Linked DNA regions of Homo sapiens: regions 1, 2, 3, 5 and 6 are each linked to region 4. Evidence: promoter capture Hi-C in 16 types of primary human blood cells and fetal thymus (Javierre and others, 2016). All regions are on one chromosome and are shown on one strand. Each heading gives the region's core, a stretch centred on a gene start or on the middle of the fragment in contact. The rest is flanking DNA. Distances are from core to core; before and after follow the strand shown.

What was found. Contacts are between HindIII fragments. The CHiCAGO score rates a contact against its expected background, and 5 or more counts as called.
Region 1: a contact is called between the fragment with the promoter of MIR155HG here and the fragment with the promoter of RWDD2B in region 4, in 9 of 17 cell types (non-activated CD4 T cells, activated CD4 T cells, total CD4 T cells and 6 more). The highest score is 11.0, in non-activated CD4 T cells.
Region 2: a fragment that was not itself captured here is called in contact with the fragment with the promoter of RWDD2B in region 4 in 4 of 17 cell types (total CD4 T cells, activated CD4 T cells, naive CD8 T cells and 1 more); the score reaches 8.9 in total CD4 T cells.
Region 3: a contact is called between a fragment that was not itself captured here and the fragment with the promoter of RWDD2B in region 4, in 5 of 17 cell types (naive CD8 T cells, total CD8 T cells, non-activated CD4 T cells and 2 more). The highest score is 13.4, in naive CD8 T cells.
Region 5: a fragment that was not itself captured here is called in contact with the fragment with the promoter of RWDD2B in region 4 in 7 of 17 cell types (total CD4 T cells, total B cells, fetal thymus and 4 more); the score reaches 12.9 in total CD4 T cells.
Region 6: a contact is called between a fragment that was not itself captured here and the fragment with the promoter of RWDD2B in region 4, in 1 of 17 cell types (M0 macrophages). The highest score is 5.2, in M0 macrophages.

Annotation. Positions count from the first base shown.
Region 1 is chr21:25,559,819-25,563,660 of GRCh38, forward strand. MIR155HG (MIR155 host gene) reads left to right here and starts at 2,327. Exons shown (of 3, transcript NR_001458.3): 1 at 2,327-2,439. RefSeq lists an enhancer at 1,862-1,911 and silencers at 2,292-2,381, 2,392-2,671. The HindIII fragment of the contact is 13,141 bases long and covers 1-3,842 here.
Region 2 is chr21:25,587,873-25,591,306 of GRCh38, forward strand. It overlaps MRPL39 (mitochondrial ribosomal protein L39), which reads right to left. Exons shown (of 10, transcript NM_017446.4): 9 at 963-1,010. Among named protein-coding and RNA genes, the nearest start is that of LINC00515, 6.4 kb to the left of the region's middle. The HindIII fragment of the contact is 2,632 bases long and covers 1-2,625 here.
Region 3 is chr21:25,717,146-25,720,976 of GRCh38, forward strand. It overlaps JAM2 (junctional adhesion molecule 2), which reads left to right. Exons shown (of 10, transcript NM_021219.4): 10 at 1-417. It overlaps LOC124905002 (a long non-coding RNA gene), which reads right to left and starts at 3,356. Exons shown (of 2, transcript XR_007067827.1): 1 at 516-3,356. The HindIII fragment of the contact is 2,731 bases long and covers 247-2,977 here.
Region 4 is chr21:29,017,086-29,020,637 of GRCh38, forward strand. It overlaps RWDD2B (RWD domain containing 2B), which reads right to left and starts at 2,264. Exons shown (of 5, transcript NM_016940.3): 1 at 2,126-2,264. The coding sequence starts at 2,192. LOC124905005 (a long non-coding RNA gene) reads left to right here and starts at 501. Exons shown (of 2, transcript XR_007067836.1): 1 at 501-1,162; 2 at 1,828-3,552. RefSeq lists an enhancer at 2,105-2,354. The HindIII fragment of the contact is 4,408 bases long and covers 1,219-3,552 here.
Region 5 is chr21:25,750,941-25,754,237 of GRCh38, forward strand. It overlaps GABPA (GA binding protein transcription factor subunit alpha), which reads left to right. Exons shown (of 10, transcript NM_002040.4): 5 at 1,049-1,294. Among named protein-coding and RNA genes, the nearest start is that of GABPA, 18 kb to the left of the region's middle. The HindIII fragment of the contact is 399 bases long and covers 1,340-1,738 here.
Region 6 is chr21:25,952,835-25,956,190 of GRCh38, forward strand. It overlaps APP (amyloid beta precursor protein), which reads right to left. Exons shown (of 18, transcript NM_000484.4): 12 at 2,793-2,921; 13 at 1,756-1,855. Among named protein-coding and RNA genes, the nearest start is that of APP, 220 kb to the right of the region's middle. RefSeq lists an enhancer at 1,830-3,029. The HindIII fragment of the contact is 2,407 bases long and covers 235-2,641 here.

The sequences.
Region 1 (3,842 bases), core at 1,077-3,576, 3.5 Mb before region 4:
GAGGCTAGAAAGTTCCAGATCAAGGTCCTGCAGGGTTCGGTTTCTGGTGAGGACTCTCTTCCTGGCTTACAGGAAACCACCATCCCATTGTGTGCTCACATGACCTCTGCTTTGACTGATTTCTGAGAGAAAGGGAATTCTGGTGTCTCTTCCTCTTCTCATAAGAGCACTAGCTCTATGGGATTAGTGATCCACCCTTTTGACCTCATTTAACCTTTATCACCTCCTCACAGGCCCTATCTCCAAATGGGGATAACATTGGGGATCAGGGCTTCAACATATAAAGTTGAAGAGAACATGATTCAGTCTATAGTAATCCCTGATGGGAGACATCATTATTGTCATTTACAGGAAGCTGAGACATAAAAAGTTTAACGTTCAGATTCCACAGCTAGAATTAGTGTAAAATGCAGGTGTATTTGACTCCTAAAACCCATTTATCCATCCACTATTCTGGGTGTCTCAAACTGGGACCTAAAATGCGGAGGTTTGCACATGACCTGAAATTACTTCCACCACTGGGAGAAGGGAGGATTGAGCAATTTCCTGTTTCTATTAAAGTGCATTATACAAACTTGTCATTCTGGGGATGAAAGGTCACCCTAGAATTGCCTATGGGCAATTTCTTATAGTTCAACCTAGAATGAGAAATGGGAAATTCAGAAAGGCATTGTAGGCATCTGTAACCAGCAGAGGGACGTGCCCCACCTGGGTGGGGACCATGCATCCTTGCCACATGCCCCACTGCACAACTTCCCCAGCTCCTCAACGTCACATGGATCTGGAAAGCAGGGAGACTGGACTACGGAGCCAGCCCTCCAGGGTTGGAACTGAGTTTGAATCTCAGCTTGACTACTTACTAGGATCTAAGGTAACATGTTTAATCTCTCTGTGCTCAGTTTCCTCATCTGGAAATAGAGATTATAATGCTCCTCCCTCATATGATCATAGTGAGGACTGAAAGAGTTAATGCATATAAGGAGTGTTAGGACAGGATCTGGCACATGGTAAATGCTTTATAAGTGTTAGTTGTTATCATCATGATTATTCTTGTTTGAATTATAAGAGAAAAAGCATGTATCTTAAGAATAGAGGGTTTTAAAATGCTCCCAAGTTCCTTAACCAACCTGAGCCATCTGTAAATTAAGTACTATGGGATTTCCAGCTCTGACATGTATTCTGACATGTAACTGGCATCAGTTTAATACAAACTATTCTAAAATGTCTTGTGCCCTTGACAGGGAGGTCCAAGTACTGGATACTTGCAATGCAATCCAGCAGTGGCCCCGTCTTTCTTACAAAAAGGCCCCAGTCACATGTTGATGAGGCTAGATCTATTCCTGTCCTCCTTCTCTTCCCCATATTTCCTTATTCTTCTTCAAGTCTAAACGTTTATTGAACTGAGACCCATGAATGAGTTACTCGACTAGGCTTGTAGGATAAACTTGCCAGGCTTTAGATCTATTTGTTCCTTTCCATCCCCCAAAATCAAATGGCTGCTCCAGGAAAATGTTCCCCTTGTGGCAGGGTCCGGGAGAAAAGAGAGAAGCGACAAAACCAAAAATTAAAACGACCGAAGTCCCATATGCTCCAGGAATATGTCCTGGAGATGGGAGTGGAGGGCAGGGGGAGAATGTTGTTGAGGTCAAAATTTTTGAAGTTTTAAGTCCTATATCTTGACATCCCGAGTATAAATGCGGGTACCAGACACAGTACAAACGTTCTCAAAGCCCAGTTACGTATTCCAAACCAAACGCGGGCTCTTGAAGGGTGATGAGGTAGGGATGAAATCCAGGATCGCCTGAAGACCATTTCTTCCTCTCTTAGGGACCTGCTGGTCTCCAGCTGATTCGGTCCAGGAGGAAAAACCTCCCACTTGCTCCTCTCGGGCTCCCTGCAAGGAGAGAGTAGAGACACTCCTGCCACCCAGTTGCAAGAAGTCGCCACTTCCCCCTCCAGCCGACTGAAAGTTCGGGCGACGTCTGGGCCGTCATTTGAAGGCGTTTCCTTTTCTTTAAGAACAAAGGTTGGAGCCCAAGCCTTGCGGCGCGGTGCAGGAAAGTACACGGCGTGTGTTGAGAGAAAAAAAATACACACACGCAATGACCCACGAGAAAGGGAAAGGGGAAAACACCAACTACCCGGGCGCTGGGCTTTTTCGACTTTTCCTTTAAAAAGAAAAAAGTTTTTCAAGCTGTAGGTTCCAAGAACAGGCAGGAGGGGGGAGAAGGGGGGGGGGGTTGCAGAAAAGGCGCCTGGTCGGTTATGAGTCACAAGTGAGTTATAAAAGGGTCGCACGTTCGCAGGCGCGGGCTTCCTGTGCGCGGCCGAGCCCGGGCCCAGCGCCGCCTGCAGCCTCGGGAAGGGAGCGGATAGCGGAGCCCCGAGCCGCCCGCAGAGCAAGCGCGGGGAACCAAGGAGACGCTCCTGGCACTGCAGGTACGCCGACTTCAGTCTCGCGCTCCCGCCCGCCTTTCCTCTCTTGAACGTGGCAGGGACGCCGGGGGACTTCGGTGCGAGGGTCACCGCCGGGTTAACTGGCGAGGCAAGGCGGGGGCAGCGCGCACGTGGCCGTGGAGCCCGGCCTGGTCCCGCGCGCGCCTGCGGGTGCCCCCTGGGGACTCAGTGGTGTCGCCTCGCCCGGGACCAGAGATTGCGCTGGATGGATTCCCGCGGGCAGAGGCAGGGGGAAGGAGGGGTGTTCGAAACCTAATACTTGAGCTTCTTTGCAAAGTTTCCTTGGATGGTTGGGGACGTACCTGTATAATGGCCCTGGACCAGCTTCCCTGTTGGAGTGGCCAGAGAAGTGTGTAAAACACACTAGAGGGGCAGGGTGGAAAAAGAGACTGCCTTCAAAACTTGTATCTTTTCGATTTCATTTTGAAAAATAACTACAAATCTATTTTAATTTTACAAAGTTAGACTCATAGCATTTTAGATATCAATGTCTTCATTTAACAGAAGTGAAGATGGAGCAAACGCTCAATCAGCGTCTGTATTTATTCGCTCCTGTTGTGCCAGGGTGCGTTTTTGCCGAGCGGTTGCCTTTCTTTACTCACAAAACCCCCTTGATGTCTGTCCTCCACGTTTTACGAGGGAGAGCCGGATCTTTTGAAGTTTGTATCATCTAAAGCAGGTATATTGGGATGACTATGGATAGAATTTAACCTGAAAACACTGAAGTTGACAGCTGACAAAGATATAAGAATCCAAAGTATGTTAAAAATTAAGGAGCTGAGGCCCACAGAAGTGAAGTTACTTTTCCAGCATCACACAGCAGATCTAGGACCCTGTGTGATTTGAAAAGGCCAAGGTATCTAATGATGCTCATAATTTAGTTTACATTTTGTGTCAAATAGATGAGGTCAAGTGGACATTATGTGTATATTCCAAAGCCAAAATTACTGCTTGTAATATCCATTCATCTCTCCGAAGACGTAGTGCCTCTTTTATATGGCTTTAACCTAATGTATAATCGAAGTGAATTAGGGCAGCCAGACTTTTAATCACAGGACTGATCTTTTAAAAACGGGTATATGTAAAGTTAATTGCTTATCTATGTGAACAGTAATATACACTATAAAAAGTTTTCAAGGCAACTTCCTGCCTGTGGTTTAATTTGATAGTCACAATGATAGGAAATTGGCAGGGTTAGGTGGTGGTATCTACATTTTGCCCATGAGGACTTGTGGCTCAGAGAATTTGAGTTTTTTCTAGTAAGGTCACTAGGTCCCTAGTGCACAGCCTGCTTTTAGGTACGGATGTGGGATGGGGGTGTCGGCAGACCACAGGGTTTTGACTCTCAGTTTGGGCTCATTTCCATGACTCCTTGCTGCCTCCCT
Region 2 (3,434 bases), core at 60-2,559, 3.4 Mb before region 4:
CCAGTGTTTGTGGCATTGTGGGAAATTAGGATAAGGAGGAAGTCCTAATGAGGACAGATTACACAGGACAGCTATCAGATAACCTAAGTAAAAGAGGCACACTTAGCCTATGAAATAGGAAACAGGAATAGTTGTGGTCAAGAAATACAATCACCCGGGCCGGGCGCGGTGGCTCACGCCTGTAATCCCAGCACCTTGGGAGGCTGAGGGGGGTGGATCACGAGGTCAGGAGATCGAGACCATCCTGGCTAACACGGTAAAACCCTGTCTCTACTAAAAATACAAAAAAATTAGTTGGACGTAGTGGTGGGCACCCATAGTCCCAGCTACTTGGGAGGCTGAGGCACGAGAATCGCTTGAGCCCGGGAGGTGGAGGTTGCAGTGAGCTGAGATCGCGCCACTGCACTCCAGCCTGGGAGACAGAACAAGACTCTGTCTCAAAAAAAAAAAGAAAAGAAATACTATCATTCCTACTCATTAAGTCTAAATGCTAATGACAAAGAATAAACTACAAAAACACAAACATTCAAATCTGGTTTTTCAGGACATTAGGATATTTGCACATTTACTGTTAATGGCTAAAGGCGGCTTTAAAATACACCTGACAAATCTTAATCCTCTAAATATTCATTAAGTTTACAAAATAAATCCTAAGACCTAACTGATACCATTACAACTATTAAGAACTATTACTATTACATAGTAATATTCTTATTTCTCTTCAAGTTCTACAATATCATTTTCACGATATTAACAAATAAAATCAAAAGAGAACTGCCAAGTTACAACTTTACCCTTACCAACACACTAGTGAACAATCACAACACTGCTTTGACTATTGAGACAACTTACTTTTTTCCTTTCTCTTTGTTTCTTTCATTTTTCCCCCCTTTGGTTGTTATTGGTTAATTTTGATGAATTTCTTTATAGAAGAGTACTCAATAGCTGTCAAAAACACTTACCATTTTCCGAGATCTTTCCAATAGCTTATCCCATATTGTAAAATGTGCCTTGAAAAGAAAAGATTTGCGATGAACTAAATGAAGCAGTAATGTCAAAGTAAAAAGGACAGAGTCTTTATATAGCTTTTAGAACAAAATAAATAAAAAGCTAGGCAGTACTAATTTAGATAAGTGGTTATAAAAGTGGATCATAGTAGCAAAAAAAGGTGCTACATGGGGATAGCTGCTTTTTTGCTTTCTTCAATCGCATGAACCCGGGAGGCAGAGGTTGCAGTGAGCATTTAAGAAAAAAACGCTTAAGGATTGAACGTGCCCTTCTTTCACTTTTGCCCATCTTAATCATTTCCATCATAGAAAGCATTTCTTCTAATAGGAAGCAAAAATCTGCCCTACTTTCCCATAGACTGTGGTTCAATCCTTAAACAGCCAGTTTCAACATTCTAGAAGTCATTCTTCAAATCATAAGCAATCACAAGAAGACAGTCATTAAAAACCAACTGTGACATCTTCACACTGAAATGGCAGAAGCAGAGGATTCATCAAGTTACCCTAAAGAATAAGTAAAACCTAACAAAGACAATAGTAAATTTTTTTTTTTTTTGAAATGGAGTTTCACTCTGTCGCCCAGGCTGGAGTGCAGTGGTGCGATCTCAGCTCACTGCAACCTCCGCCTCCCAGGTTCAAGCAATTCTCCTGCCTCAGCCTCCCAAGACAATAGTAAAATTTAAACTCAATTTCCTTAGTCCATAACAACCTCCTGTAGCAGAGGATTATCAGAATGCATTAAAGAAAACTGTGCAAAGTGTATCATGACCACATCAATTTTATTAGGTCAACTGAAAGTGGTAACAAGACATATGGGCAGGCCAGTGACTACTCCACACTGAATGAGCTCATAAAATCTATAATAAAAGGTAAAATTAATAAATATCAACATACAAACCCTTCCAGGGAAAGAGCTGACTGGTATGTTTAAAGGGAAAACCATGCCTGACTCAGGCGGAATGAACTGCTGGTGCAGAGACCTTAAGCTGTGGCTGGAATATAGTGAGTGAGGAAAGGAGTGGTGTTAGATAAAGTCAGAGAAGCAGGCAGGGACCAGATAATGCAGGGCTTTGTGAGACAGGGTAAAGAGTTGGGATTTGTTCAAGGGAAGCCATTGGAAAGTTTGGGGCAGAGGAAGTACATAACAGATTGTGTATTAAAAAGATCACTTTGGCTACTAAGTGGAAAATGCACTGTAGATGGCAAGAGTGAAAGCAAGGAAGGTGAGTGAAAACAAAGAGGAACTTGGATAAGGGAAGTAGTAGTAGATGAGATGTTATAAGGTGCATAGATTCAGAATATGTTTCAGAGTTAAAAGTTGAAAGGACTTGCGGATGGATGGGCTGGGGCATGGCTATGAGGGGAAAAGAGAATCAAGGATTACCTTAAACAACTAAGGAAACCAGGGGTATCCAATCTTTTGGCTTCCCTGGGCCACACTGGAAGAAGAATTGTCCTGGACCACACATAAAATATACTAACGCTAATGACAGCTAATGAGCTAAAAAAAAAAAAAAATCGCAAGAAAACCTCATAATGTTTTAAGAAAGTTTACAAATTTGTGTCTCATTCAAAGCCGTCCTGGACTGCATGCAGCCCATGGGCTGTGAGTTGGACAAGCTTGAGTTAAAGGATGATCCCATTTTCTGAAATTGGGAAGGCTAGGAAAGGAAGCAGGTATGTGGAGAAAAGTCAAAGTCAAATGTATAGGAGAGGTGTGCTAAATTTTACAAAATGAGAGGGATGAAAGAAGATATAAATAAATAAGAAGATACAGTAAGTTCATAGACTGGAAACCTCAACATATTAAAGATGTCAATTCTCCCCAAACTGCTATACAGGTCTAATGGACTTATCAGAATCTCAGGAAGACTCTGTTGACATTGAAAATATTATCCTAACATTAAATGGAAACTCAAAGAGACTAGAAGAGTTAAAACAATTTTGATTAAAAAACAGTAACAAGGGAGGAATTACTCTACCTGATTTCACAGCCTATTTAGAGCTACAGTAATCAAGACTGGGTGGTACTGGTAGAGAGCTAAACATATGTGATCAATGGAACAGAATAGAGGACCCAAAAATAGGCCTACATAAATATGCTCAGCTAATTTTTAACAAAGATGCAAAAGTAACTCAGTGGAGGAAGAGTGGCCTTTTCAACGAATGGTGTTGGAGCAATCTGACATCTATAGCCCACAAAAAAAAAAAAAAAAAAAAAAAACCTAAACCTAAATCTCACACTCATAGAAAAATTAACTCAAAATGGACCACAGATTTAAACAAATGTAAAACTCTAAAACTTTTAGGAGGGAAAAAAAAAAGGAGAAAATCTTTGGGATGTAGGACTGGTCAAAGAGTTCTTAGAATTAACCCCAAAAACATAATCTATAAAAACAAAAATGTTATCAAATTTTAATAAACTAG
Region 3 (3,831 bases), core at 362-2,861, 3.3 Mb before region 4:
CTTGTATAAAAGAATGTTTTCCCCCACACAAAGGGCAGAGTATTGAGCACTAATTTCCTATTAAAAGTATATATATGTATCTGTGGGTCACTGGTGTCCAGACTTGTATTTGCATTTGTGTTTACTTGAGGAACTTGAACACTAACAACTGGTAAAATCCCATTGTAATTCTTACAGCATTTTGACTTTATTTTCCTGCAGTGAATTGTGTTGTGTAAAGATTAGGGCTTTAAAATCTTATTAGCAAGCTTTGTTTTGTTTTAATTATTGTTGCTGTTGTAACTAGATTTAATTTATTTTTAGTTGGAGGTTTGACCTAAGTCTGGACCAATTGATTGCTTTTCAATACAACTTTGCAAAGAACTTCCTTTTTCCACAGGTGGCTTTGTTCGATTAAAGTCTACACTAATAAAAATAGCTGAACTTGTTAAACTTTTTAGCCCCATATAACAGTGCAGGGAAAGAGTCATCCACCTATTGTTATTCATAAAACCCAGGAAACTACACCCTCTTACCTTCTGTAGCTACAAGGCTAGCTGCTGGTTAGCTGCTTAAGATTAGAATGTCATCATCTCTGGATGGCTGCCAACTTCTCAAATGCTGAGAAAAATGCTCTGAAAATAAAAAGCAACAACTATTTATTGAACACTTTATATATGTCAGAGGTGGGGATGGATGGGGGTGAGGATGTAGAAAATCTCATTCATCTCAGCGATACTATAAAGTGGGTAATGTCATCATTTTGCAGATGAGGAAACAAGAGTTACTGACTTGTCAAGTTCATGGAGCTGAGGAGTGAGGAATCAGGGTCTGTGGGGACCCAGATCAGTCTGATCCAGGATGTTTCACACACCATGTTTTTCTCTACCCCCAGGCTGACTTCCTTTTAAATTCTTTGCTGTTATTGTTGAGATGGGGTTTTGCTCTGTCACCCAGGCTGGAGTTCAGTGCCGCGATCACGGCTTACTGCAGCTTTGACTTTCCAGGCTCAAGTGATTCCCCCAGCTCAGCCTCCCAAATAGGTGACACCACAGGTGTGTGCCATGCCCAGTTAATTATTTATTATATTTTTGTAGAAGGGGGGTCTTGCCACGTCGCCAGGCTGGTCTCAAACTCCTTGACTCAAGCGCTCCTCCCTCTTCGGCCTCCGAAACTGCTGGCATTACTATAGGCCTAAGCCCGGTCCTTTTATTTATCTATTTATTTTTAAATTTTATGTATTTATTTATTTTTTGAGACGGAGTCTCGCTCTGTCGTCAGGCTGGAGTGCAGTGGCGCGATCTCAGCTCATTGCAACCTCAAGGGTTCAAGCAATTCTCCTGCCTCAGCCTCCCGAGTAGCTGGGACTATAGGCGCGCTCCACCATGCTTAGCTAATTTTTGTGGTTTTAGTAGAGATGGGGTTTCACCAAGTTGGCTAGGATGGTCTCGATCTCTTGACCTTGTGATCTGCCCACCTCGGCCTCCCAAAGTGCTGGGATTACAGGCGTGAGCCACTGTGCCCAGCCGAGCCCAGTCCTTTTAAATTCTTGTGCGCTTCTCTGTCACACTTTCCTTTCACCCCCAGTTATCTCTGGCCCCTCATCGCCTTCCTGGTCTCACTGCCAGACAAAATACCTTTTTGTCATGCCTTTCCCCTAACCCAGTCTAAATATCACAGTGGGCCATTTCATTCTCTTCCACTCTCCTCTCATTCTCCGAAGATGCCCAAATCTCTAATATTATTTTGAAAAATATTGAGGCTAACCAGGATGAATGCATTTAAATCCTATCACCACCACTGCCCCCTCCTATCTCTAAATCTCTCCATCTTTAGCCTCCCATTTATTCACTGACTACATCATTCATTGTCTTATTTGATTCTTCAGTCACTACTTTCATCCTTTTATCTCAGGCTTTCAATAGCATCTCAACGTTTATCTCCGGGAACTTCCACCCTCCAGTACCCTCTCAGTCACAACGTCAATCTCTCCAGTTCCAAAGGCTCCTTTTCCCTCTAATCTCTTCTTCCCCCCACCCCATCCATCAATTTGCCCCATTTCTCTCGAACCATGTCAACTCCCTTCTCCTTTCCCCTGGCTAAACCCTTTCACTCTTCCTTTACCTAGTCTATCACAAAATCTAAACTCCTCAGCCTGGAATTCAAGGTTTCCCACCCATCACAGACATATCCCATCATATTGCCACAGCCTACGTATTCAGCTATATGTTCTACTAACTTCTTCGGTTGCCTCATGTACCCATTAAACTGAGCTATGGTCATTTTATCTTAACCCATTTCCCCCTCCTCTATACACTTACCTATAACACCCTATCCACCTGGAATGTTAATTCTCCTAACCACAAGACTTGTATATTCTATCTACTTATTAAGAGACAGGTCAAATTCCACCCCCTCTAGGACAGCCTTCTCTCATTTCCCCTGCTGGAAACTCTTTCTTCTCTGAATTTCCGTAACCCTTGATTCACTTACTGGTTTCTACCCCATAATAGGAATGAACATGTTTGACACCCCTACCAATCTGGAAGCATTTTGAGAAAAGAACCATGTTTTACACAACTTTATAAGACCCAAAGAATTTAACAGCATCTAACGTGGTTGGTATTTAATGTGATAAATGAATTTTTAAAAATCAAAGGAACACTTGTCAAAGAGCAAATTTAGTATTTAACTATAAAATTTCCCCATAAATTTAGTTCAAATATTAATAAATGATTGTATTCTGAAATATGTAATTATAATAGTTATCTAATATGTGAAGTTACAAAGTTGTTCCATGAATGAAGGCTGGATGGAAACTATTTTTCTCATACCAGTCTTTTAGCAATTAGACATGAATTTCCACACAGTTCTTAAGAAGCTCTTCAAATATTTTTCCAACTTTCAAATTTTAAAATTTAATTTTTCATCTTTTGTTTTCTCTTTTTGGAACACTTTTAGTGTTAACAGTTGGTTAAGAAATTCAAGGTAAACTAAAAGCTTTCATTTGTGATACTTTCAATATTTGTTTACTTTTCAATATATGCTAAGTTTTTACTTGACCAGGTTTGAAAAAATGTACTAATTAAGACAAACTGGAGTGTAAAATGTCTTTTTACTTTCCACCAAGAAAATGCTCTCAAAACAAGTTAAGTGTGTGTCAACAAAGGACCTGTTTACCTTCTTTGAGATTGAAAGCAGGCTGTTTCAAAGCTCCATTTCATGATCCTTTATTTTCAACTTCAAGTGTGCTATTTATAAAGTTTCTTAAAGATGGTATAAAAATAGAGATTTACCAAGAGCTATAGTTGGAGTCCTAAAGTTGCTTATGGTTTTTTTTTTTTTTTTTGAAATGCAGTCTCGCTCTGTCACCCAGGCTGGAGTGCCGTGGCGCAAACTTGGTTCACTGCAGCCTCCTGGGTTCACGTAAGTCTCGTGCCTCAGCCTCCTGAGTAGCTAGGATTACCGGCACCGGCCAACATGCCTGGCTAATTTTTGTATTTTTAGTAGAGACAGGGTTTCACCATGTTGGCCAGGCTGATCTTGAACTCCTGACCTCAGTGATCTGCCTACCTCGGCCTCCCAAAGTGCTGGGATTACAGGTGTGAGCCACTGCGCCCAGCCAACTTCTTAATTTCTCATTCTCAAACTTTCTTTCCAAATATTTACTATGGAATTTAACTACTGCTGAATTGAAGTTACTGTAGGTTAAGAAACATTTTCTTTCTAAATTTTAGGATAATATATACCAAAGAGAATGAATAAAAGTTTTACAAAGACGCTATGTTCATATAACAGGATGTTAATTGGGACTTTCTCTGTTGCCTAAAGACTAGAAACAAGTATCTCACT
Region 4 (3,552 bases), core at 1,014-3,513:
TGGTCTCGAACTCCTGCCGTCATGATCCACCCGCCCTGGGCTCCCAAAGTGCTGGGATTACAGGCATGAGCCACCGTGTCCGGCTGCTTATTACTATTATTATTATTGGTCATCATTTCAACAAATGTTTCTCAAGCACTTACGTTCAAGCACTGGCACTAAGATAACAATGAATGAAAGTAATAAAACAACTCTACTGGTGGGAGGATACCATGACATCAAAAACAAATTTATACGCCCAGCCCAGGTGCGGTGGTGGCTCACGCCTGTAATCCCAGCACTTTGGGAGGATGAGGTGGGCGGATCACCTAAGGTCAGGAGTTTGAGACCAGCCTGGCCAACATGATGAAACCCCATCTCTACTAAAAATACAAAAATTAGCCAGGTGTGGTCGCCCACGCCTGTAGTCCCAGCTACTAGGGAGGCTGAGGCAGGAGAATCGCTTGAACTGGGGAGGCGGAGGTTGCAGTGAGCTAAGATCATACCTCTGCACTCCAGCCAGAGCAACAGAGCAAGACTGTCTCAAAAAAAAACAAAAAAGAATTTTTGTACCCAGTGAATAACTGCTATGAAGAAACCTGAAAAAGAAAACAAGGATAAGGGAAACAATGAGGCAGCAGGGGTGAGACTGCACACAGCATTGTCAGGAAAGGCCTTTCTCCTAAGGTGACTGTAGGGAAGAGACTTTAAGGAACTGAAAAAGGAGGCCATGTGTTTTTCTTGGCCAAGAGTGTTCAAGGGAAAGCGAACAGCATATTCAAAGGCCTTGAGGAAGGAGGGTGCTAGAACAGCTGGCCAGAGCACAGTGAGCTGAGGACACGGGGAATAGAAGAGTTTAGTAAGGAAATGTGGGGCAGTTTATGTTGGGACTAGTAAAGCATGGCCAGAATTTTGAATTTTATCCCGACTGACATGTAAGAGCTACAAGAGAGGTTTGACTTATGAAGATCCCCACACTTGCTGCTATGGAGAAAAGTGAAAGGAAAAGTGGGGTGACCAGATATAGACACCGCAATAACTAGGGAGAGATGATGGTGGCTTTGATAGGATTATAGTGGTCAAGTTGGTGAGCTTCAGGTTCTGGATACATGCAGAGAACAGAGGCAACAGGATTTACAGATGAATTACATGAGACACGGAAGAATGACTCCGGGGCTTTAAGGTACTGAAAGTATGGATCTGCCATTTATTTAGACGTTGATGGTCATGGGGAGCTGAAGCTTGGTTTTAGACACAAGTAATGAAGTGCCTACTAAGACACCTGTTAAATAGAGAGGTCTAGCAGGCAGTTAGATGTATAGTTTTGAAGTCTACGAGAGACTCAGCTAGATATATAATCTTGGGAGTCAACACTTATTTGGAACTATATATTTGTTTAAAGTCTCCCAGGGAGTGAGTAAAGTTGGGAGAGGGTGCTATTGAATTGGAGGTATCGAAGATGAAATGGGATTAGCAAAGAAGAACGGGACGGAGGGACTCTTGAACGGACAACTACGGGAGTGATGTCACAGGTCATTTATCTGCCAAATTATTTTCGCTTAAGAGATTTCAGTCCTTCCAAAAAACCCTCAAGATAATTTTATGATTCAAGATTTCAGCGAATGCTGTAAGATAATAGACTGTGGCCGGGCGCGATTGCTCACGCCTGTAATCCCAGCACTTTGGGAGGCAGAGGAAGGGGGACTGCTTGAGCCCAGGAGTTCAAGATCAGCCTGGGTAACATAGTAAGAGCTCGCCTTTATTATTTTTTTAAAAAATAAAATATATTTAAGAGAACGCAGACTGAAACTTGAGATTTCTGAGTGGAATAATATCTTTTCCTTGCAGATTTTTTTTTGAAGAACAGAGCAGGGTACCCCGCGACCCAAGCCAAGACGCTCTCAGGAAGAAAGCCCAGCACGCAGCCGCCCTCGCACCCTGATTGCCCCCGGGGCGAGGTCCCCGGCTGGAGCAGGGCTGCAGAAGCCGGGAAGCAACGCCGAGGACCGAGCCGACCGATGGGCGCATGCAGTGAGGGGAACCGGGGCCGCCATGCCGGGCACGTTCCCAAAGGGTTGCACTGGGCGCTGCAGCGTGGGAAACCCCCGTGGCGGTCACCACTGGCGCTAGCTGAGGCGAGACTCACCTTGAGCCGTGGCCCCCTCACTGCTGTAACCCGGGTTCCATGGCTGCATGGACAGCTCAATTTTCATCAGAAGGGAGCCTCAAAATTCTAGCATACTGCGACCCAAAACTTACAAACCGCCTCAGCTGGCGACCTACCGGAAAAAAAAAAAAAAAGCATGCGGCGCATGCGCGTCCAAGGCCGCGGACCGGAAGCTGGGGCTCGCCTGTTGGGAGCCGCGTCCGCCGGTGTTGGTGTCTGCACTTGGAAGGACGTAGGGAATGCGTTGTCCCTGCTAGGTACTTTTCAGTCGCAGAGTTCTCTTCTTCTTCTTTCTTTCTTCCTTTTTTTTTTTTTTGAGACGGAGTCTCGCTGTGTCTCTCAAGCTGGAGTGCAGTGGCGCGATCTCGGCTCACTGCAGCCTCCGCCTCCTGGGTTCAAGCGATTCTCCTGCCTCAGCCTCCCGAGTAGCTGGGATTACAGGCGCCCACCACCATGCCCAGATAATTTTTGTATTTTTCAGTAGAAATGGGGTTTCACCATGTTGGCCAGGCTGGTCTCGAACTCCTGACCTCAGGTGATCCACCGGCCTCGGCCTCCCACAGTGCTGGGATTACAGGCCTGAGCCACCGTGCCCGGCCGGAGTTTTTCTACTTAATACCTCTCCATGCCAACCCCGTTGTCATTTCCCAGCGGCCGCCTCTATAACGGGCACTTTTCAGGGACAAAGAATTGGTCCGTTAATGTTCCTCAAATTCGAACGCGCCTAGGAATAGTTCGGGGATCCTGTTGAAGTGCAGATCAGGATTCCGTAGGTAGGGGTGGGGTTCCAAATTCTACATTTCTAGTATCTTCCCACACGATGGTGATCCTCCTTGTCCCTGAATCATGGAGGAGGGCAATTAGGGAGATGTGAGCCTGGATGCATGGTGGCCTTGGCTATCTTAGGTGTTCTTGCCCATTAACCAAGCTGGGAGGAACCGTGTGAATGCATATCTATCCCTGTTAATAAAAGGGTAGTTTGAAGGAGATGCTGACAGGAGAATAATTAGAAATGTTTTTCTTCCCAATCCAACTATATGCAATACACTTTATAATATTCATTTTAGAAATGTCATAGATAAGATTTGTAAACATTGACATTTAGCAATACTAAATATCACTGCTAGGTCTCCCCTCCACTTTTTTTTTTTAAACAAAAATACGACAGTATGTATTGTAGGTCTTCATAAACTACGTCTTCTGCATAGTGTTTCATGAGCGTTTTTCAATGTCATAATTTATTTTTTCCTCCAACATTTATTATGAAAAAATTCAAGTGTAAAGCGAAGTCGAGAGAATTTTACAGTGGAGCAGACCTCAAGAGAAGGGGAAGGATGGATTTCCCCTCTATTTAGCAGTGTCTGAAGACATTTTGGGTTGTCACAACTGGAAGGATGGTATTGGCA
Region 5 (3,297 bases), core at 289-2,788, 3.3 Mb before region 4:
TGAGAATGATAGTAGTAGTTTCTTGCAATACTGGTTTTCACAGAAGATCGAAGTTGAGTTGTGCTTTTTCTTTAAGCTGTACTTTGATTGAATTTTGATATAGATTGTAATAGATTCAGTAAGAAACAGAAGCAGTTATGTAATATGACAGTGTCTTAGAGCTGTCATTTTAGTCTGAGGTTATTTCGTAAAGGGCTAATTCCATTTTGAATAGATAAATAAAAGTATATCTTATAGAGAGTACTGCACACATAATGAAATAACTGTTTTTATGGCATAATTTCTTGGCTTAATTATAATTTAATTAGGTATAATCAAATTATAATTTAATAGTTTAAATGTGTTTTAAACTATCCAGAATTAAATCAAAATCAGAATTTTGATTTAATTCTGGATAGTTGAGGAGCCTTTGTATTAATAAATTATTTATTTTTATTTTTTATTTTTTCCATAGGAATTACAGTTCTTAACACCTTTATACTAGGAGCTTAAAATATTCAGGATTTGGGTTTTTCTTCATCTCATTTAAAATGAAATTTAGAATTTAATGGTTAATTTAATTTAGTAAATTTGGCATAATTTTTAACACATCTACTTTGTCCTTTAAAAAGAAAAACTGAGTCAGTAAATAATAATTTTAATTTGCTTAGAAGGATTTTTTAAAATTCCAAGGATAGGTAGCTGCTCATTTATACTCTGCCTAGTCTAATTTTTATTGTTTCGTATTGGTAATTTTTATTTTTATTTATCTATTTATTTTATTGTGGTAAGAACTGGTACTTCTTTTTTTCTAATGATGTTTATAGGTAGGGTTTGTGTGTGTGTCTTATTTTTTATAAAATTATTTTAAACTTGTAGAAAAGTTGCAAGACTAGTAAAAGAATTCTTGAATATCCTTCACCCAGATTCCCCAAATGTTAACTTTTACTACATTTGCTTTATTCGATGTAGTTTTTCTCTACCATTTGGGAACATATAAACTAAATTATTTTTTGGTGACTTCTGCGTTTTCATTTAGATTTACAATTTTTTTTTATCCACTGTTCAGGAATTGAACCAAAGTTAAACATCCTTGAAATTGTTAAACCTGCGGACACTGTTGAGGTTGTTATTGATCCAGATGCCCACCATGCTGAATCAGAAGCACATCTTGTTGAAGAAGCTCAAGTGATAACTCTTGATGGCACAAAACACATCACAACCATTTCAGATGAAACTTCAGAACAAGTGACAAGATGGGCTGCTGCACTGGAAGGCTATAGGAAAGAACAAGAACGCCTTGGGATACCCTATGGTAATAAAATGCATAATTCTATATTGGGTAGAATAATAGGAATTAAGCTTGACATAGAAGACACTAGGGTAAGTTATAATCTATTTTACATGTAGAGTTATTAGGATGAATGTTGATTTTCTGTATCTCTCTTTTAATTGTAACGCACATTTAAGCTCATGTGGTGGACAAATTCTGTCCTGCGTGCAGGAAATACAAAGAAGTCTAAAAAATTTCTGCTCTTAGGGTGTTGAGAGTGTAGTTGAAGAGAGAGAAGATAGATGAAAAGAGATGATTGCCATAAAAGGTAACATGTTTTTAAACTGCCAGTAACTCTTGTAGAAGTATGCTATTGGAATCTCAAAGAGATCATAGTTGCCCTGAGGGAAAGCTGAAAAGAGTTTATTATAAATAAGATACCATTGGGCAGAGAAAGACATTTAAGACAGGAAATGTTATGTGCAAAGCTTAGACCTGGGGGTATGCATGAGTAGTGAGAAAATGGAGTGGTTAAGGAGTTACTCTGTAGCATTACAGAACTGTTTTTGATTGATGAAAATGATAATTGAAAAATGAATATGGTGGCAATATATGGCATAAGTTGGAACAGGTAGAGACTAAGTGAAGGGAAAACAGGAGCATATTATTATAGTTGTGACTGGATGATAATGTCTACATTAGCCCAGACTCCAGATGATTTCTTTGGGAGTAGCAAGGAAAAAGTGGATGAAAACAGTGATAGGACTGAGCAGATTGACAGATTTTATGAGGGTAGAGAGGGAAGATACAAGTATTGATCTAACTTCTCAAGCTTCATCTTGGTGACTAAAACAGTAATAATCTTGATAAAAATTGGTTCCATCATCATTACATATTTAGTGAACACTACCGTACACCAGGCACCATGTTAAATGCTGGGCTTAATTAAGATGGTGCACTATGAAGAGCATGCTTTCAAAAGCCCAGTTGGGGAAGTAGAGAAGTCTGGTATAGGAAATGTTTTTTTCAAGAGAAGGTGGATAGCACTTGATTTTGATGTGGAAGTTTATATTCAGCTGGAGGTTAGCCAGAAAATGGTTTCAGTTATATAAGATTTGGGCTGGAGACAAAGATGTTATATGAGACTCATTCCCACTGAATTTATATTTGAAGCTATAAAAGTCTACGTAGTCCCTGATGGAAAGCGAGAAATGGAAAAGAACACACAACTAAAGGCATATACACTTGACCCTGTAAACATTTAGGGTTGGAGAAAAGGGAGACAAGAAATAACTGAAGAGACAGAAAGAAAGTAATAACTTATATGTATAGTGTCACTGAAATTGAGGGGAGAGTTTGGATGGTCAAGACTCTCAGATGCTGCTGAGAAAGTCAAAGAATGCTGACTGATATCTATTAAATTTGATGATCAGAGGATTATTCTTAAATTTAGACAGAAGTAACTAGAGTTGGCGAGACAAAACAGAATTATAAGAAATAGATATCTTAGAAATGGGGGCAGATGAGGAAGAATGCTGGGGTAACAAATAAATAATACTGATCTTCCAAGAGTTGGCGGGGACCTGAGTGTATTTGTAAATGAAACAGTATTGTCGGGTTTTTGTCCTTTTTTTATTTTTTATTTTTAGAGACAAGGTTGTACCTGGGGAGCAGGGCTGATGACAGAAAGGCTGTATTGTAGAACCACTGTTTTCCCTAGGACATTTTTTTTCTTTCTTTAAACCAAACCTAAAAGATACACAGTAAATGAGAGAGCTTACCCATGGAACTGAAAGAGAGCTATGGAACCAGACAGCTAATGTAGAATTTCAGTCTGTCCCTCCGCTGCCCAGTACTGTAGCCACTAATCACACGTCAGCACTTGAAGTGTCTCTGGTCAAAATTAAGATGGGTTGTAAATGTAAAAATACCCATTAAAAGAAAAAGTATAAAATCTTTTCTAATTTTTTATATTAATTACCAGTTGAAATAACATTTGGAACATTAAGTTAAAATAAATTCATTATTAAGATGTATTTGACCAA
Region 6 (3,356 bases), core at 188-2,687, 3.1 Mb before region 4:
ACAACTTTTTGGAGAACTTCTTTACACTTATTTAATACATAGTATTTTAAAGGTTCCTTACTGATGTCTATTCTCCAAGTATACCTGAAAAGTATATTTGTTTGCTAAAGAAACTTGATACAGTGAAAAATTAATTGGAGATCTCTGTTCTCAATTCATGGTGTAGACTAAAAACTCCACCTCCACTATCTTCATAAATTCTTGCTCAACACTGAGTTGCTCCTTCTGAACAAAAGCTTGGCACACTATGAAGTTGCTTTTTTTCTCTTCTTTTTTAAATTAGAGAGGGGGTTTCACCATGTTGGCCAGGCTGGTTTCGAACTCCTGGCCTCAGGTGATCTGCTCACCTTGGCCTCCCAAAGTTCTGGGACACTGCACCTCCCTGACATATGAAGTTTCTTCTGCAAGTTATGTAGCTCAAAGTATAATTTCAGATTCCGTCCATTAATGTGCAGTACTGAACAGAACATCATCACTTGACACATGCCAAATATTTCACAGCAATACAAACAATATTTACAAGGCCACATAAATCAGGAAAGAATGAGCAGAATAACACTGGCATAAAATGGGAAAAAGTGAGGGCCAGCTGTTCCCTTGAGCGGTGTTTCAGGCACTTCAAAGTCGGACTTACTGTAATGGGTACATCCATCTACAACATCCTGGGTGCTCTGATTCCAGATGATAACCTGTATCTATTTCCAACCCAATTAACAAAGGGTAGGATTCTTTATGGGGAAGGATATGCCAGATACATATTGCTTATATGTTGGTAGACTACACACTAAATCTCCAGTATAGGTACATATGCTTATATTGAAAGATGCACCAACATAATCGTCATCTATGTACCTTTGTGAAGTAAGTTAAACAGTTATGGGCATTTTGGCAGCTGACAGAGACTCATGTGGTATTTTATTCTCTTTCCAAGAGAAACAGAAATGAGAGATCTTAAATGAAATCATTAGTCATTAGGAAAACTAGGGACATAAAAGACAGTGGGCACACAAGGTCAGTTTCCTGGTTTTGATAATGGACTATAGTTACGTAAGATGTCACTGGTGAGGCATGTGGGTGATGGATGCATGAGACCTCTCTGTACTATTTTTCCAAGTTCTTGTGAGAGTACAATTATTTCAGAATATAAGTTTAATAGCCCACTATCTTTTAAGTTTAAACAATGATGTGGTTCAGAGAACACTCATGGCTTCCCTGCTCAGCCATCAAAGAGAATTGTGACTTACTGAATATAACAATAACCTCAAAGTCACAAGTCACAGTTATGTGTTTTGGCTGTGCTACTTATAATGCATGTGACACAGGCCAGTAAGTTACTCAAATTTTAAGTTTGAGCTTTTTCATTTGTAAGATGGAACAATCGTGACACTCAAAAGATGAAGAATGAGTTTTTTTCCCCATTAATTGTAAAGTACCAAAGCATCATAATTTGAGAGCCATAACAAGATTGGGCAAATTAGAAAAAATGCTGCCACGTATAATTCAATAACAAGTGTCCAATTATTACAAAACTATACCCTAAGTCAGGCGACATTCCTCCAGTCTTACAAGTATGGAGAGGTAAGAACTGATTCAATTGCTAAGGCTAGTAAGCTAGTTCCAGCCTGACAGTTTCATCGTAAAAGGCAAGCTGTTCTATTAACTTCCATATTCCTCAAACAGATAACTCACTTCCTCAATTTTCCTCTGGGGGAAAATACATGTCCATGTGCAGCATCAAAAGAACAGCTTACTTACCAACTTCATCCTGAATCTCCTCGGCCACTGCAGGCACGTTGTAGAGCAGGGAGAGAGACTGATTCATGCGCTCATAAATCACACGGAGGTGTGTCATAACCTGCATCAAAGGATGACAACTCCAGGTCAACAATGTCTGGGGGTAGGAATGGTTCTTTTTCTTTCTTTTTTTCTTTTTTTTTTGAGACGGAGTCTCGCTCTGTCGCCCAGGTTATTTTTCTTACCAAGCACTGCAGGTAGATACAAACTTCCAAAAGAAAACTGACAAAACACTGCTACTGTTAAAAAGGTTGAACTGAAAGGGCAACTTTATTTTTCTTGTTCTCCTATTTCTGTTCTCTAACTTTTTGAGCTCAGGTTTAAGACTTGATCTTGAAACTTACCATTATCTTGTATGCTTATAACAGCCAATTAAAAAGGCTACCTCTGCCACCTCTGATTCCTAATACTGAGGCTCTCTTAACAGGACCCTCATGCCTAAATACATTTCTTTGCAAATTTCCCCCTAGAAAACAACGTATTTCAATTTGATTGGCTATTTCATGCTATATATATTTAACTCTTTCATTCAAGAAAATGTAAAATTTCACATTTCCTAAGGTAGATCCCAGTTTTCAGCCTTTGGGAACCGGGGAGTATAAAATACATTATTACTGGGCTTCATTTAGGCTCACATGAAATCTCAACATTCCAGTAGGTTTATGATTGCCTGCCATACTTCAGTTGAACCAGTTTTCAAGATTTTAGTTTATACAACTTTTGTTTTTCTCATTTTAGTCATTGGTTTTAATCAGTTCCTTAGCAATCAGTTAGCAGTAGACTAAGATTTTTACATTTGTTATTTTCATAACTCAGAAAATGCCAAACCACATATTGCTCTAAGACAAGCTTTTAGAATTTACCAGAAGTTAAAGAGCTCTTGCCATAGGGAAAACACCTATAGGTGCTCGGAGAATGCGTGGGATCCTGTCACCAACCCAAGAAGCAAGAATCCTGGATTGTCAAAGCTGCAGAAGATGATTATACCCCACGCTTACCTGGGACCGGATCTGAGCGGCTTTCTTGGGATCCACCATGCGCACATGCTCGAAATGCTTTAGGGTGTGCTGTCTGTCCTTCTGTTCTGCGCGGACATACTTCTTTAGCATATTGAACACGTGACGAGGCTGTGGGAGGAAAATGAAAAACTCTTTTTCAAGTTTGTGCAAAACACTGCTTCTTCCATTGGCGATGGGTTAGAGGTTCCACTAATGCATCCGGTCATGTGAACGTACTGTGAGTCACCTTTTTGCAGGTCTGCCTTCTAAACATTTCTCCTACTCCTTTCTTAATGGGTAATTACTTAGATCGGCTGCTTTTCACTTCCACAAGAGCATTTAACATTCTCGACATATATGATGACTGTCCTCCTTACTCAACATTTTCTTTTTAAATAGGAGTACTCTGCTATAGAAAGAGAACAGATTTGAGGTCTGTCAGGTTAAGTTAGGTCCTTCTCTTTTCGCACCCAAGGGGCATATGTGAGACTACATTGCTACGTGTACATTTTGAAGACCAGAGGTAATGTCACACAGATAATCCCATCACCAGTAACATGTAAC